Linked DNA regions of Homo sapiens: all the other regions are linked to region 1. The links are contacts of gene promoters, found by promoter capture Hi-C in blood cells and fetal thymus (Javierre and others, 2016). All regions are on one chromosome and are shown on one strand. The core of a region is centred on a gene start or on the middle of the fragment in contact, and the rest is flanking DNA. Distances in the headings are between cores, read along the strand shown.

What was found. The method cuts DNA at HindIII sites, captures the fragments that hold promoters and counts their contacts. A CHiCAGO score of 5 or more calls a contact.
Region 2: a contact is called between a fragment that was not itself captured here and the fragment with the promoter of PFDN4 in region 1, in 9 of 17 cell types (total B cells, naive B cells, naive CD4 T cells and 6 more). The highest score is 18.9, in total B cells.
Region 3: a fragment that was not itself captured here is called in contact with the fragment with the promoter of PFDN4 in region 1 in 2 of 17 cell types (naive B cells and naive CD4 T cells); the score reaches 7.2 in naive B cells.
Region 4: a fragment that was not itself captured here is called in contact with the fragment with the promoter of PFDN4 in region 1 in 1 of 17 cell types (total B cells); the score reaches 7.5 in total B cells.
Region 5: a fragment that was not itself captured here is called in contact with the fragment with the promoter of PFDN4 in region 1 in 4 of 17 cell types (naive B cells, total B cells, total CD8 T cells and 1 more); the score reaches 14.3 in naive B cells.

What each region holds. Positions count from the first base shown.
Region 1 is chr20:54,206,826-54,209,350 of GRCh38, forward strand. PFDN4 (prefoldin subunit 4) reads left to right here and starts at 1,262. Exons shown (of 4, transcript NM_002623.4): 1 at 1,262-1,299. The coding sequence starts at 1,276. It overlaps LOC124904937 (a long non-coding RNA gene), which reads right to left and starts at 1,216. Exons shown (of 2, transcript XR_007067669.1): 1 at 1,132-1,216; 2 at 121-231. RefSeq lists enhancers at 659-1,476, 1,017-1,336, 1,477-2,293 and a silencer at 1,327-1,596. The HindIII fragment of the contact is 8,273 bases long and covers 1-2,525 here.
Region 2 is chr20:52,234,867-52,237,391 of GRCh38, forward strand. It overlaps LOC105372666 (a long non-coding RNA gene), which reads left to right. Exons shown (of 17, transcript XR_007067652.1): 2 at 1-66. Among named protein-coding and RNA genes, the nearest start is that of ZFP64, 44 kb to the left of the region's middle. The HindIII fragment of the contact is 6,502 bases long and covers 1-2,525 here.
Region 3 is chr20:52,251,889-52,254,413 of GRCh38, forward strand. All of the region lies in intron 2 of LOC105372666 (a long non-coding RNA gene), which reads left to right. Among named protein-coding and RNA genes, the nearest start is that of ZFP64, 61 kb to the left of the region's middle. The HindIII fragment of the contact is 3,750 bases long and covers 1-2,525 here.
Region 4 is chr20:52,293,224-52,295,748 of GRCh38, forward strand. All of the region lies in intron 2 of LOC105372666 (a long non-coding RNA gene), which reads left to right. Among named protein-coding and RNA genes, the nearest start is that of ZFP64, 100 kb to the left of the region's middle. The HindIII fragment of the contact is 2,183 bases long and covers 166-2,348 here.
Region 5 is chr20:52,311,464-52,313,988 of GRCh38, forward strand. All of the region lies in intron 3 of LOC105372666 (a long non-coding RNA gene), which reads left to right. Among named protein-coding and RNA genes, the nearest start is that of ZFP64, 120 kb to the left of the region's middle. The HindIII fragment of the contact is 5,272 bases long and covers 1-2,525 here.

The DNA of each region.
Region 1 (2,525 bases), core at 12-2,511:
AATGTAAAATGATGACAATCTTCTCAATTTATTTTTGTCTTAGAAAATATAGTTATTTTTAAAGTGTGATTTTTATTACCATGGAATGGAGTTTTATATTATTTTAAATGAATTAATAAATACATTTTAAAAATTCTGCTTTAATTTCTAATACAGCAAATATCGATAAATAACCCACATAAACAAAAGTTCTTTGGAGTCCTCAGTAATTTCCAGGAGTATAAAGAGGTCCTAAGGCAAAAAAAAAAAAAAAAATTACTAATTGGGAGACACAAGTGTCAGAATATACAGTAATTGTTCAGTAATATTGCTGTAAATTAATTAATAGGATTGCCTAGTCACAACAGCAAAGGCATGGAATCAACCCAGATGCCCATCAGTGGTGGATAGGATAAAGAAAATGTGGTCCATATACACCATGGAATACTATGCAGCCATAAAAAAGAACAAAATCATGTCCTTTGCAGCAACATGGATGCAGCTGGACATCATTATCCTAAGTGAATTAACACAGAAACAGAAAACCAACCACTCATGTTCCCACTTATGAGTGACAGCTAAACACTGGGTACTCGTGGACATAAAGGTGGGAACAATAAATGCTACGGATTCCAAAAACGGGGAAGGAGGCAGGGGAAAGGGGTTGAAAAATTACCTGTGGGGTACTATGTTCACTACTTGGGCAACGGGATCATTAGAAACCCAAACCTTAGCACCATGCAGTATATCCATGTAATAAACCGGCACACATACCCCCCGAATTTAAATTAAAAAAAAATTACATTAAAAGATAGGAGTACCTCCTTTACACCACCTGAATTATCATGGCACATAAATCTCACACCCTATTTGCCAAGGCCATTCGTTCCTAGCTGTTTTACAGGTAGGTTAGCTTTCTCAATGCAAGTCTGTGGGACGGATGGAGAAAAATTCCCCGAGCCCTTTGATCCTGCCCCAGCTGGGCCCCGCCGCGCTGAGCCTTGGGCGCGCCCCCTGCTGCCCGCGGCCGGAGCCGTTCGCCACACCCCCGTGTTTATGTCGGTCCACGGGGGTTGCCTGTCCCTTTAATTGGCATGTACCAAGTCCTTCCAGGTCACATTTCCTCCCTACGTCCCAGCCGTTTGGACTCACTGGCCAAAAGTCCAAGAGGACGGAATGTGGAGACAGTGTTGTATTTTTGCGGGGAGTTCTAGGCCGACCGGGAGCGAGAGAACGCTCGGGGGCGAAGCGCGCCATTGCGGCCCTCCCCGCCGCCTGCGGTAGTCCAGTCCCAAGATGGCGGCCACCATGAAGAAGGCGGTGAGTGGGGAGCTCGGGGCTCTGGATGCTCGGGCGGCGCCGGATCTCGGCCGCTGGGGCCCGGGCGCGGGATGCTGGGGGTGCGCAGCTCCGAAGCCCGGCGTGGGACCCGAGGCCGAGGCCGAGGCCCTGAGAGCGGTCCCGCGGCAAGGCCTGCTCGCGCCTGGCGCCCTGAGCGTTTTCCTAGGCACCTGGCCAGCCGAGGCGGGGCGCCGGGGCTGGGGCCGGGAGCCTCGAAGGACGCAGGTCCGCCTCCCGCGATGCCGAGGGTGCCCCCGGGGAGTCTGAGGAACCTGCAGCCCCGGCCTCGCCCCTGAGGTGTGGGAAGCCGAAGGTCCCGTTGAGTGTGGTTGGCCTTGACTCGGGCGTTGCACCGGCATGATCGCATTAGCCTCACTGGTTATGGGTAGCTGCTGCTGGGAGCGTGGTTACGGGTGAGGAAACTGAGGCCCAGAGATGGGGAGTCACCTGCCCGAGGTTACGCAGCTCATAACGGGGACAGCAGGTTCCTGCATCCCCAGATTAGCAGGCCCCAGAGACCCTGTGTCCAACCTGGAGCTGCCCATTTCCACGCTTGATGCCCCTGAGTCCTTCAGGCTAAAACCAGTATTTATTGAGAATGGAAGATGTGCCGGGCCCAGCAGCCGGCCGTTTATCTGTTATCCTCCCCGCAACTCAGCAAGTGCAATGGGTTCCTCTCCACTTTGCAGGTAGAGAAACTTAGACACAGAGCAGTTAGAGGCCCTAAAGTGACTCAGCTAGTAAGAAGCAGAGCTGGAGTTCAAACTCAGGTTTGTTTTTGTTTTTCTCAAAGCACGCCTGTGTAACCACTAAGCCGGCTAAACTTCCATGTGGGGTTTTTAATCCCGTGAGCCTTCCCAGATGTGTAAAGATAGTCAGATAGAAGAAAAAGAAAATTGGAGAGGGGGAAGGAGATAACGGCTGATAATTTGGGGAGCTTTACAGTGTGCTAGGTACAGCTGTAAGTTGTTTTGCGTGTATTGTTTATTTTATGTTCTTTGAGGGAGATACTGTTTTTATCCTTATTTAACAATGAGAAAACAGGCGCGGAGGCAAAGCTAGCATTTAAACACAGGCATTCTGACTCCGGAGTCTGTGTTTTAAACTGCTATAGGGGGTCTTTGATGAGAATCTCTTGGCTGGAGGGATTTGCGTTCATTCCACTTTTAAGACCACATTAGAACTTCTTTGCTTTGCCCCTATCC
Region 2 (2,525 bases), core at 15-2,514, 2.0 Mb before region 1:
AAGAGTGTCCTCATTCATGCAAGGCTTAAGAGAGAATGCAGGTCAACATCACCATGTCAATCAGAGGTAGGTGAGCTCACCAATTGGAAAGGCCCATTGGTGTGGGGATGAATGGTCTTGAAAAAGCCCTTCAGGAGATAGGTGTGGGCACCCAAGAGGATTGCCTAATGTGTGGTATGAAGCTAGTAGAGGTTGTCGGGTGACTGCATTAGGAGACACAATGTATAGAATGTCAGTTGCCACCCCCACTATCCTAAGATGCTGTAGACCAGAGGTAGCATGGTGAGGGGCACATGGGTGGGTGAGAGCCTGGCATGGGCCCACAGTGTTTAGTTTAATAGTAGTCCAGAAATCTGATGTTGTCTTGTGCCGCGCTTGAGTGAGAATCATCAAAATTGGTGTGTTAGCCCCATTCTACTTGTCAATCTTGTGCAATCACATGAAAGAAATGCTGTGCCAGCTGGCAGGGAGCTATCTGCTGGTCTCCTGGAATTGGGATCTCCCCAGATGACCCGTGCGTGAGATTCAGGGCTCCTCTGGGCAGCTAGTGGACACATGTGGGATAGTGGGCTGGAGAGCAACCTGGAGGGGAAACCCTGGGGGCAAGGGGGGGTCCATGAGGTAGGCCTTGAGCATCCCACCTGTCACTACTGCAGACCCTGCCCTCCCTGGGAGGGGACTTAGGCCACTTACACCTGGGGCCTAGAGCAGGACTCCCACTTCCCGCATCCAAGGAGGGTACTGGTACTTTCTATGTGCCTTGCAGTGTTCTGAATCCTTCATGTAACTTAGCTCATTTAATCCTCATGGTGCCCCGGGAGGTATGAACTGCTATTATCATCATCCTCGCTATTTCACAGGTGTGAAAACTGAGACTTGAGAGAGGCTAAGTGTGTGCTAAGGAAACTCAGCTAGTAAGTAGCTGACTGGTATTTCAACCCGGGCAGCTCAATTGCAGATTGTCACCTTAATCCCTTGCTATGCTGTTTCTCACTGTTTGAACTCTGCTAAAGACAATATAAGGCACACTGCATAAAGTTGCTTTTTATGAACATATTACCACTACTTTATGTTTGCATGACCTTTAATAGTGTAGTCAACATTTGTCTCCCCCACTGCATGCTGCATTCCAATCCCACTACCCCAATTCTAACAGTATCCTGATTTCTTGTTCAGAAATTATCTTTTTCTCATGGGCATGGTCAAAGTGTTCTGTCTTTCCACTATAAGGCCAAAGGAGTCCCTTCCAGAACCTTCTTCTTAATATTACAGTGCATTTCAAAGTGAGCAAGTGAGAGTCTGATTGAGCAAGTCAGCTTTCACCCAGGACTTCCAATCATGAGCCTAGTGACTCAGAGATGGAAAAATGGCCCAAGAGCAGTGGACCCTGATATGTTGTGCATGTTTGTCCCCTCCAAATTTCATGTTGAAATATGATTCCCATTGTTGGAGGTGGGGCCTGGTGGGAGGTATTGGATCGTGAGGGTGGATTTCTCATGAGTGGTTTAGCGCCATCCTGCTGGTGATCACGGAGTCCTTGCTCAGTTAGCTCATGTGAGATCTGGTTGTTTAAAACTCTGGGACTTCCGCCATCTCTGTCTCTGTCTCTTGCTCTTGCCACATGATATGCCTGCTCCCACTTTGCCTTCTGCCATGATTTTACAGTGCCTGACACCCTCACCAGAAGCAGATGCCAGAGCCATGCCGGCACAACCTGCAGAACCATGAGCCAATTCAACCTCTTTTCTTTATAAATTAACCAGCCTCAGGTGTTTCTTTATAACCATGCAAAAAATAACCGGACACAGACCCTGACGAACATTCTCTGTCAGTTCCTTGATTCCTGATCCTTGTTCCTACTTGACTTTACAGCCTTCCCATAAATTGTGGAAGTCTCCAAATACCCTTCTAGTGAATCCCTTTTTTTCCTTTTGCTGGCTAAACCAATTTCTGTTGCTTGCCATCAAAGAACTGTAACTGATACAGCATATGGTCTCATATGCGATTCTCACTAGCCAGATTGGAGTGGGAAGGCGGTATCACCATCCCTGTTTTATAGATAGAAAACTGTTCAGAGAGGCTGAAGAAGTTGCTCAAAAGTACACAGTGAGTAAGGGACAGAGTCAGGATTTGTTCCCACAGTATTGACCTCTGCTTCAGAGGGCAAAGATAATCTTGATTTTCTTTCATTTCTTTATTTTCTTTCATTACTTTTCCATTTCCATTAGTGGCAGAGCATGGCTTAAATACCATTGCATCTTAGCCAATGGCGGAAGCTCTCTGAGCTTTATTCCCTCATTAATGAATGGGGATAATGATAGTAACTACCTAAAAAAAAAAACCTGTTGTGAGAATCATGTAAGAGAATGACCTTGGAACATCCTTGGCACAGTGCTTGGCATGCAATATGTACTCGATACATGTAATTCCCATGTCAGGAGTGACAAGATAGAATTCAAGATTCCTGGACATTGTTTAGGCGTTATAATACACTTAAAGTTCCAGCTGGGCACAGTGGCTCACCT
Region 3 (2,525 bases), core at 14-2,513, 2.0 Mb before region 1:
GCAGGTATTGGTGGTGGACATTTTTTCTGCCCAGTGTGCATCCTCCCTTGTCCAGGTAACAGACATCATTTCCCTCTGGGGAACTCTCTCTTCCTTGCAATCCATCCCTGTGGTTTGAGAAGCCCTGATGTCATCCATGGCTCCACCGTGCATGGACAATCAGAGCACCACTGAATGGGGAGAGTTTAGGGATGGGGACATGATACAATTTGGGCCTAAGTTTGGATGGCTGGGGAGAGGAGTTCTATTTCTCATTAGAAAGCAGGGAAGCCAAGAGCAGCTGGCCACGGTAGGGAGCTGGTCAGCCTGAGGGTGAAGCTGATGTGGTGAGGGCTGTGCTAAGAGATCTCAGGTAGTGGTGAGAGTTCGGAGCTCCCAAATCGGGCTGTGCTAGCAGCCAGCTCTTTCTTCAATACTTTCAAATATTTGAGTCAATTAATCTCCTTTTTCTTTTCAAAATCAGTTTGAATTGGATTTTCCGTCAATTACAATCAAATTAGTATTGCGATTCATTAGCAGTACTACTGTTAAATAGTAGTAGTAGTAGTTGAGGTAGTAGTAGTTGTAGTATTTCCCTGTTTTACAGACTTGAGATTTGATCTCCAGGGGTATGTAATTTGCCCAGGATCACCCAGCTTTGAACTCAGGCCGGCATCATTCCAGGGCTCGTCTGTATGACTACTGAGAAATCACATTCCCACTTCTGTTCCATGCTGGCTGTTTCCAAAGACAGGGAGTCAAACTCTACCATCTTGTTAGTGAATGTGAATCTGTACTTCTCCTGGATCCCGTGCTGTAAACACTTGTTGGACTTAGGCAGGAAGAAAAGAAACATTTTCTTGAACAGATTAACTTTTGGACTCCGTACTTATAATTAGCTAGTTTTGAGTTAGTTACAGTAACCTCTGTTGGTTATTTATTTGATCACACATGACTCTGATGCAAAACAGCTTTGCTTTGGTCTCCTAGTGACCTGCGTGAACTGCATCATTAGGCAGCTGGTAGAGGTCTGACTAATTACAGCAAAATAAAAAGGAAAGTCTAAACACTCCTCCTCTTCCCCAAACATTCTTTGCGAAACATGCCTTGCTGGGCCCTGGACTACTTCATGAAAACGTGTCACTAACAAAATATGGAAGAGGCAGAAGAGCCTAATGGAAACAGTTTTATTGAGTGCCTCTGTGACAAAAATATCTTCAAAGGGAGTTCTATCAATTTTATTAAGCTACATTGTGCACTTTTACATGACAAGCATATCAAGCACAATAGCATTTGAATTAGCAATCAAGTTTTAATCGTATTTGACACTTCCCCACCTTGTACTGGCAGAAGCTGTCTCTCTGAGGAGCGACGCCATGCAAGGAGTCGTCAGCCTCCAACGGAGAAATGGGTGGCGTCCAAAAGTTCATTTGTGAATTTGCTAGTTGATTCTCAGAATACATGTTTTTCCCCCACACTTAGAATGGTATTTAGAATCCTGTGCTCACACATAAAAGCCAGTTTAACCAATTTTTATTAATTAAGGGGCTTTGGTTGCAAATGGCAGAAATTAACTCTGGTTAAGTTAAGCCAAAGAGAAAGTCCTGGAAGGATATTGGGAATTTTGAATCAGGAGAAGGCTGAGGGGTCAAACTTTCTGAGAGGCAGCCCCAGAGTCCTGCAAAGCAACAGCACAGGAATGGCCACATCTTGATTTCTGTTGTCACTGTGACTACCAGAAACCCACTCCTCCCTGTGGTTCTCTGCCTCGGCCCTTCCTGAGGCCCACTGTTGGTCTCATCGTGGCCCTGATGAGGACATTTTTGAGGCTTCATGATCTCTGTAGGATGCTGTCCATGCCCATGCACACAACAAGTGCATCTGTGAGGCCCACCTCACATCTCAGCTCCTGCTGTGCTGCGATGCAGATCCCCAGGGAGCTCGGTTCCACACAGTCACTCAGGGATCCAGCAGCCCCTTCCTCCTGTGGCTCTGCCCTCCTCTGTGTTGGTGTCCTTTCCATTCAGTACACAGATGGGGAGGAAAGTGATGAGGCTGCTACGGGCACCCAGCAGCCTGCATGCACCAGTATGCACCCAGTTCCTCAGGACAATGTGTTGGAATCATCATTGAATCTTCTGTTTCCCTCACACTCCTCATCCATTCCTTCCGTAAATTTGGTCAGCTCCACCTTCTAAATATACCCAGAATCTGGATATAACCCCCACAATTATAACCCTGGTTCTAGGCAGCATCATTTCTTGGCTAAAACATCACAATTGCCTCCTCACTGGTTTTCCTTCCTCCTCCTTCCCCTGGACAGTCTCCACTCCACTCAGCAGCCAGAGGGATTGTGTCAAAGCCTGTGCCAGATGATGCTGCTTCCTTCAAGGGTTTATCATCCTTGAGTAAATGACTTGATCTGACTTGATCTGGCTCCTGTCACGTCTCCATCTTTCTCATCAACTGTCTTTCCCTGCCATCCTTCTGCCCCAGCCACAGTGACTTCCTCCTTGATGGTCCTCAAGTATGCTCAGCATGCTATT
Region 4 (2,525 bases), core at 7-2,506, 1.9 Mb before region 1:
TGAGAAAGGCGAGAACGCAAGGAGTGCATTTCTTGGCATACACTGGCTAGTAAACAATGGGCTTAGATTTGAACCCACATCTATCTGATGCTAGATACAGCACTCTTAACTTCTACTCAGCCTTGCATTTGCCCTGTACCATCCCAGGAGTCTCAAGAACCAGGAAGCTTTTGCAGAGCTGTTTTGCTCTATTTTGTGTGATGAAACATTACCTTTTATTCTACAAATACAAAGTTGTATTATGAAACTTTGAAATAAACTTGAAATGTTTGTTTCAAACTATACTCCGTTTTCTCTCTCCCTTAACACATGTGCATATTCACACACACACGTACACACACACATGCACAGACACATTCTCAAAAGTTCTAGTACTCTGACCTTGGTTAAAATCCAGTCCTTGGTCATACAGGTGATTAAGGCAGAGACACTGCCCTATGAGGTACTAGAGTCTAGTAACAGAAGGGGACATCTTATCAGTGAAGGTTGTTGGGTGTAAGCAACAGAAATGAACTCTGGTAATTTAGACAAAAGGATGATTTATTACAAGAGTACTGGCTTGCTCAAAGAATATCAGGAGAGCCAGAGACTCAAGCTCAGTGGCAACATACCAGTCTGGTTCCAAAAGCCATAGCCCTGCCCATGTAATTATTTTGCCTCTCTGTAGATGTATATTTATTGAATAAATGCCTTAAATGAGGACTTTGCAGGAGGAAATGCAATTCCTTGTGGAGTCTCCTATGTGTATGTAAACTACAGAATCACTATTCATCCAGCTTCTTTTTGTGGAAACTATTCCCATGGGAGAGTTTGGAAAAGAGGATATGGGGTGAGAAATAAACTTTATTTTCTCCTTCTAATCTCCTTGCATCACCCCATCCTCCCTCTCTGACCTCCCCTGCCCTATCAGGAAGCTGAACAAAACTAGGTCCTTGAGAGTTTCTTCCCCCTCAATACTTGGATAGATTCTTTGTTATTTAGGGTTCTCCCCAGAAGCAGAACTTGAGATAAAGATTTGAGTACAAGTTGTTTATTTGGGAGGTTGTACCAGGAAATACCCAGAAGAAGGTGGGGAAGTGAGCCAGGGAAGGAAAGTTGAGTCATCAAGACAGCTAACGCCATGGAAGACTGGAGCTTAATGTCTCCTGGAAAACTCTGGAAGCCAGTGGAGAAAAATGCCTCAGAGTTTTTCTTTCTGGGGAGGGAGGGAGTTGGGGTATTTATACACCAACATTGTCAGTTGTTGAGGGTAGCTCCTAGAGGACCATTAATTCTTGGTACTTCTGGACTACCGTGCCTATGGCAAACTGGTCTCCAGAGACCACAGAAATCCCTTAGGCAAAAAGATGCAGATGCTGCTGATGTTGCAGTCCAGCATCAAGCACTCAGGTGATCAGGGCATGGCCCTGACAGTGACATGCGGATGTCCCTGGGCTACCGACTTCTCTTCCTTAGCAGAGAGAGCTTTGAGTGTTTCCATCCAGCAAAAGCCTTAAGAACCTCCAAATCATCCATCTTTGAGTTTCAATGTCAAGAAAATATTGGAAGAAAATATTAATGCAAATCTATGCTTTGTCAAGAGTAGTGTTTTGTTATTTTTCTTGAACTATCCCAGATACACTATTTCAAATTAGGAAAAGGACAGATTTTTTTTTCTTGAGCAATATCAACTAAAGAGAGGAGGAGGGAAAAGAAAAATTCACTTATCATGGTTTATTTGTTTCCATGTGATGATAAAAAGATTAAGTCACACAGCTTTTATTTTTCCCCAATGTTTTTCTCTTGCCTTCTGCTATTAGTTGTGTTTCTATTTATTTTAATTAGAATTTAGCCTTTTATTGAACCTATTTTCTTTCTGTGGTATTTTTATAAGCTGTGTTCAGCAATTCACAGTTTCTAAAACACTAGAGATACTTTTTTTTTTTCGGACAAGATGATGCACATCATCTGGGCTTGGATCTGGTGGGCTAGTATTCATCTCAAAGGTTATGTTCATCGTAGCAAATGGGACTAAATTTTATTCTTTAGAATTATTCCAGTTCCAGTACCTGAACACTTAACTTTAAAATTTTTTTACTATTATATTCATTGGGTATTTGTAGTGTATTCTATATACTAGCTGGTAATATCACCAACACCAACAGTATCTAGTGTTAGATGTTGTTGTACTGTTTCCAAGTGTTAGAGTCCTAGCTCTGCCTCTTCCAGCTATGCTGTTTGGGTGCTTTGCTTTACCTCTCATCAGTTTCTTTACATGTCAGCCTATAAGTTTTTATTTTAAACAGACTTTGTATATATAGAATACTTAGTCCAAAGCCTATAACATAGTAAAACATTTGACTCAGGTAAGCTTTTATTACAAAACACTGGCATACACACACTCATTTTATTTAAATAGAAATGATACTGTTGGCTTATGTGCACCTAATCTTGAATTATCAAGTGACTAATGCATGGTTTGTGTGTGTATATATATAACACACAGAGTCAATAAACAAGTGTATATGAAATATCTGTGAGTCATG
Region 5 (2,525 bases), core at 8-2,507, 1.9 Mb before region 1:
GGGAAGCATTGGCTTGCACGTGTTACTTCCCAAAAAGGTGTTTCATCCATAGAAATGCTGATTCTCTGGCTTCCCAATGCTATATTTAGAAATGACATTTACATTTCCACAGATCAACAGCTCCTGTTTGGATACAGTTCCAGGAGCTTTGCTGTGACAGTGAATGTGCTGGCTTTTATTCTCCCCTGTTTCCCTTTCTTAGCTGTGGGCAATTAGCAAAGTTAGGAGGCATTTGTCATTTGGTAGATGAAAATAATTAAATATGATAAATTCATATATTTTGAAAGAGGTCAAAATGAACCAGTATCTGTATCTTGACTTTCAAAAAGGCTTGGGGGAAAATTTATTCTATTTTCTGTCTCATTCATTTAAAGAATATCTGTATAGATTTTAGCTAAAGCATCCCTTAAACCCCCAAATCCTCCCACCCTCCCATGTTATTTTATTTATTTATTTTTGTTAATTTTGAATCTGAAAGTTTCTGATACCTTAGTAGCTTATTTATTGATAGTTCATATCCATAGAGAAATGTCTTTTATTCTGCAGTAAACCATTATTTCATTGAGGGTTTATACCTGTGGTATGTGTGTGCATATTATTTTGTGCCTGATGGAGTTCAAATATTCTAAGTATTACTCTGACATATTTCCATCTTAGCAAAATTATTCTCACAGCTATTGATAACAAAGGAAAGGACCAAATATCTTATTTCCTTGTCAAGAGGGTGGAAAAAATGGAAATAGTAAAAATAACCATTGGCTGCCATCAATCTACAGGATTATGGTCTACCTTTGGTAATAACATTCTACTTAGAGCCTCCTGAAACCTGATCAAGGGACCCCATAAAATTGTGAGCACATGTCACCATTAGAGGGCAGTGTGCACTCTCTCCAAGAGCCCATAAAAATTATGTTTCCTGCCATAGCTAAAAGGATTTGTCTGGCAAAGGGCAAACCCATTAGGCATAAACATTCAGCATTTTTTGCTGTTGCCTGTCATAATGAAAACAATGATTTGAAAGTTCTGATTAAACCTGCAAGATTTTCTATCTAGTGTATGTCTTCAAGCATATACTTTTCAAACTTACTTCTTTTGATGTTCAGCTGTGCTAGAAACGTGAGTTAGACCTGGCACAACTTTTTCAGGACTTTGGTAGGGAAAGCTCACTTTAATCTCAGTGACGAAGCTCTCCTTGGAATATAGATGGCCATTAAGTAACAGGAAAGTCTTTATCAAAACAACAGCAACCAAAGTTAGTTAAATTTTTTTTTGTTGTTGTTGTTTTTAGATAGGATCTCATACTGTTGCCAGGCTGGAGTGTAGCAGTACAATCATAGCTCACTGCAACCTCCTGGGCTCAAGGGGGATCCTCCTGCCTCAGCCTCCTGAGTAGCTACGACTACAAACATGGGCCACCACGCCTGGCTAATTTTTACATTTTTTGTAGAGATGAGGTTTCACTACGTTGCCCAGGCTGGTCTTGAACTCCTGAGCTCAAGTGATCTTTCTGCCTTGGCCTCCCAAAGTGCTGGGAATACAGGCATGAGCCACCATGCCCCACCCCCAGAAGATTAAAAAAAAGTCACTCTAAACTCCAAAATGTGTCCAAAAGTCCTCACCCACCAAAACCTAATACAAACATGAAGAATTAGTGAATATTTTTTCAGTCCTGTTTTTTCTGAGGAGCAAGAAAAAGAAATCTTTGTTTATATCACCGTTGGTAGGCCAGTAAACAAAGGCTAGAGAAGACATTTGTATAAACTTGAGAATTTGCATTTAAAACATGATCTACAGTTACTTTGTAGAATATCAGAATTTGATTCATCAGTGGGCATAAAATCATCGCGTTGGCGGTAGACCTGGAATTGGCAAAATTATGATTGCGTCAACGTGCCAGCCCACATCGGCTTCTTGTTCAGGTGTGAGATTGTAAAGGAAGGGTCTGCTAGACTCGTCTTTCAAAAAATTCAGCAAATAAATTGTTTGCTTTACAACTGCCAGCCGCAGTTGCCTCTGGCAGCGTTGTTTTTCTGCTGACTGCGACAGATTGAGCTCTTCTGCCGGAATTTCTCTAGAGGGCAGTAAGGATTCGAGGCTCTTTCCCTATTTTTCTGAAATGACGGATCATCGTTGTGCAGCTGCAAAGGTTAGGTAGTGCAGCACACGCTCTGGTGCTGGGGAGAGTGGCCGAACTCTCCAGAAAGGAGCCTCCTTGGCTTCCTGGTACGTCCTGCAAGCCGATATTTTGTGATAACCTGCAGAAAATCATTTCCTCTCTTCCAAAAGGAAATGGAAGGATTTATTAATAGAGTACAGCTATAGATACAACATATATGTATTAATGGTTGACCAAGGATTTAAAAATTAAATGGCTCCTGGGATCCTGCGTTGGAGGCTGGGTAAAGTCAACAATGGAATATCTGGGAAAACCAAACAGAATAGTTGGGAAAGAGAAATCTGTGTAATCCTGTGGTCCTCAACCAGGAACAGTTTTGCTCCCAGGGGACCTTTAAAGACATTTTTGA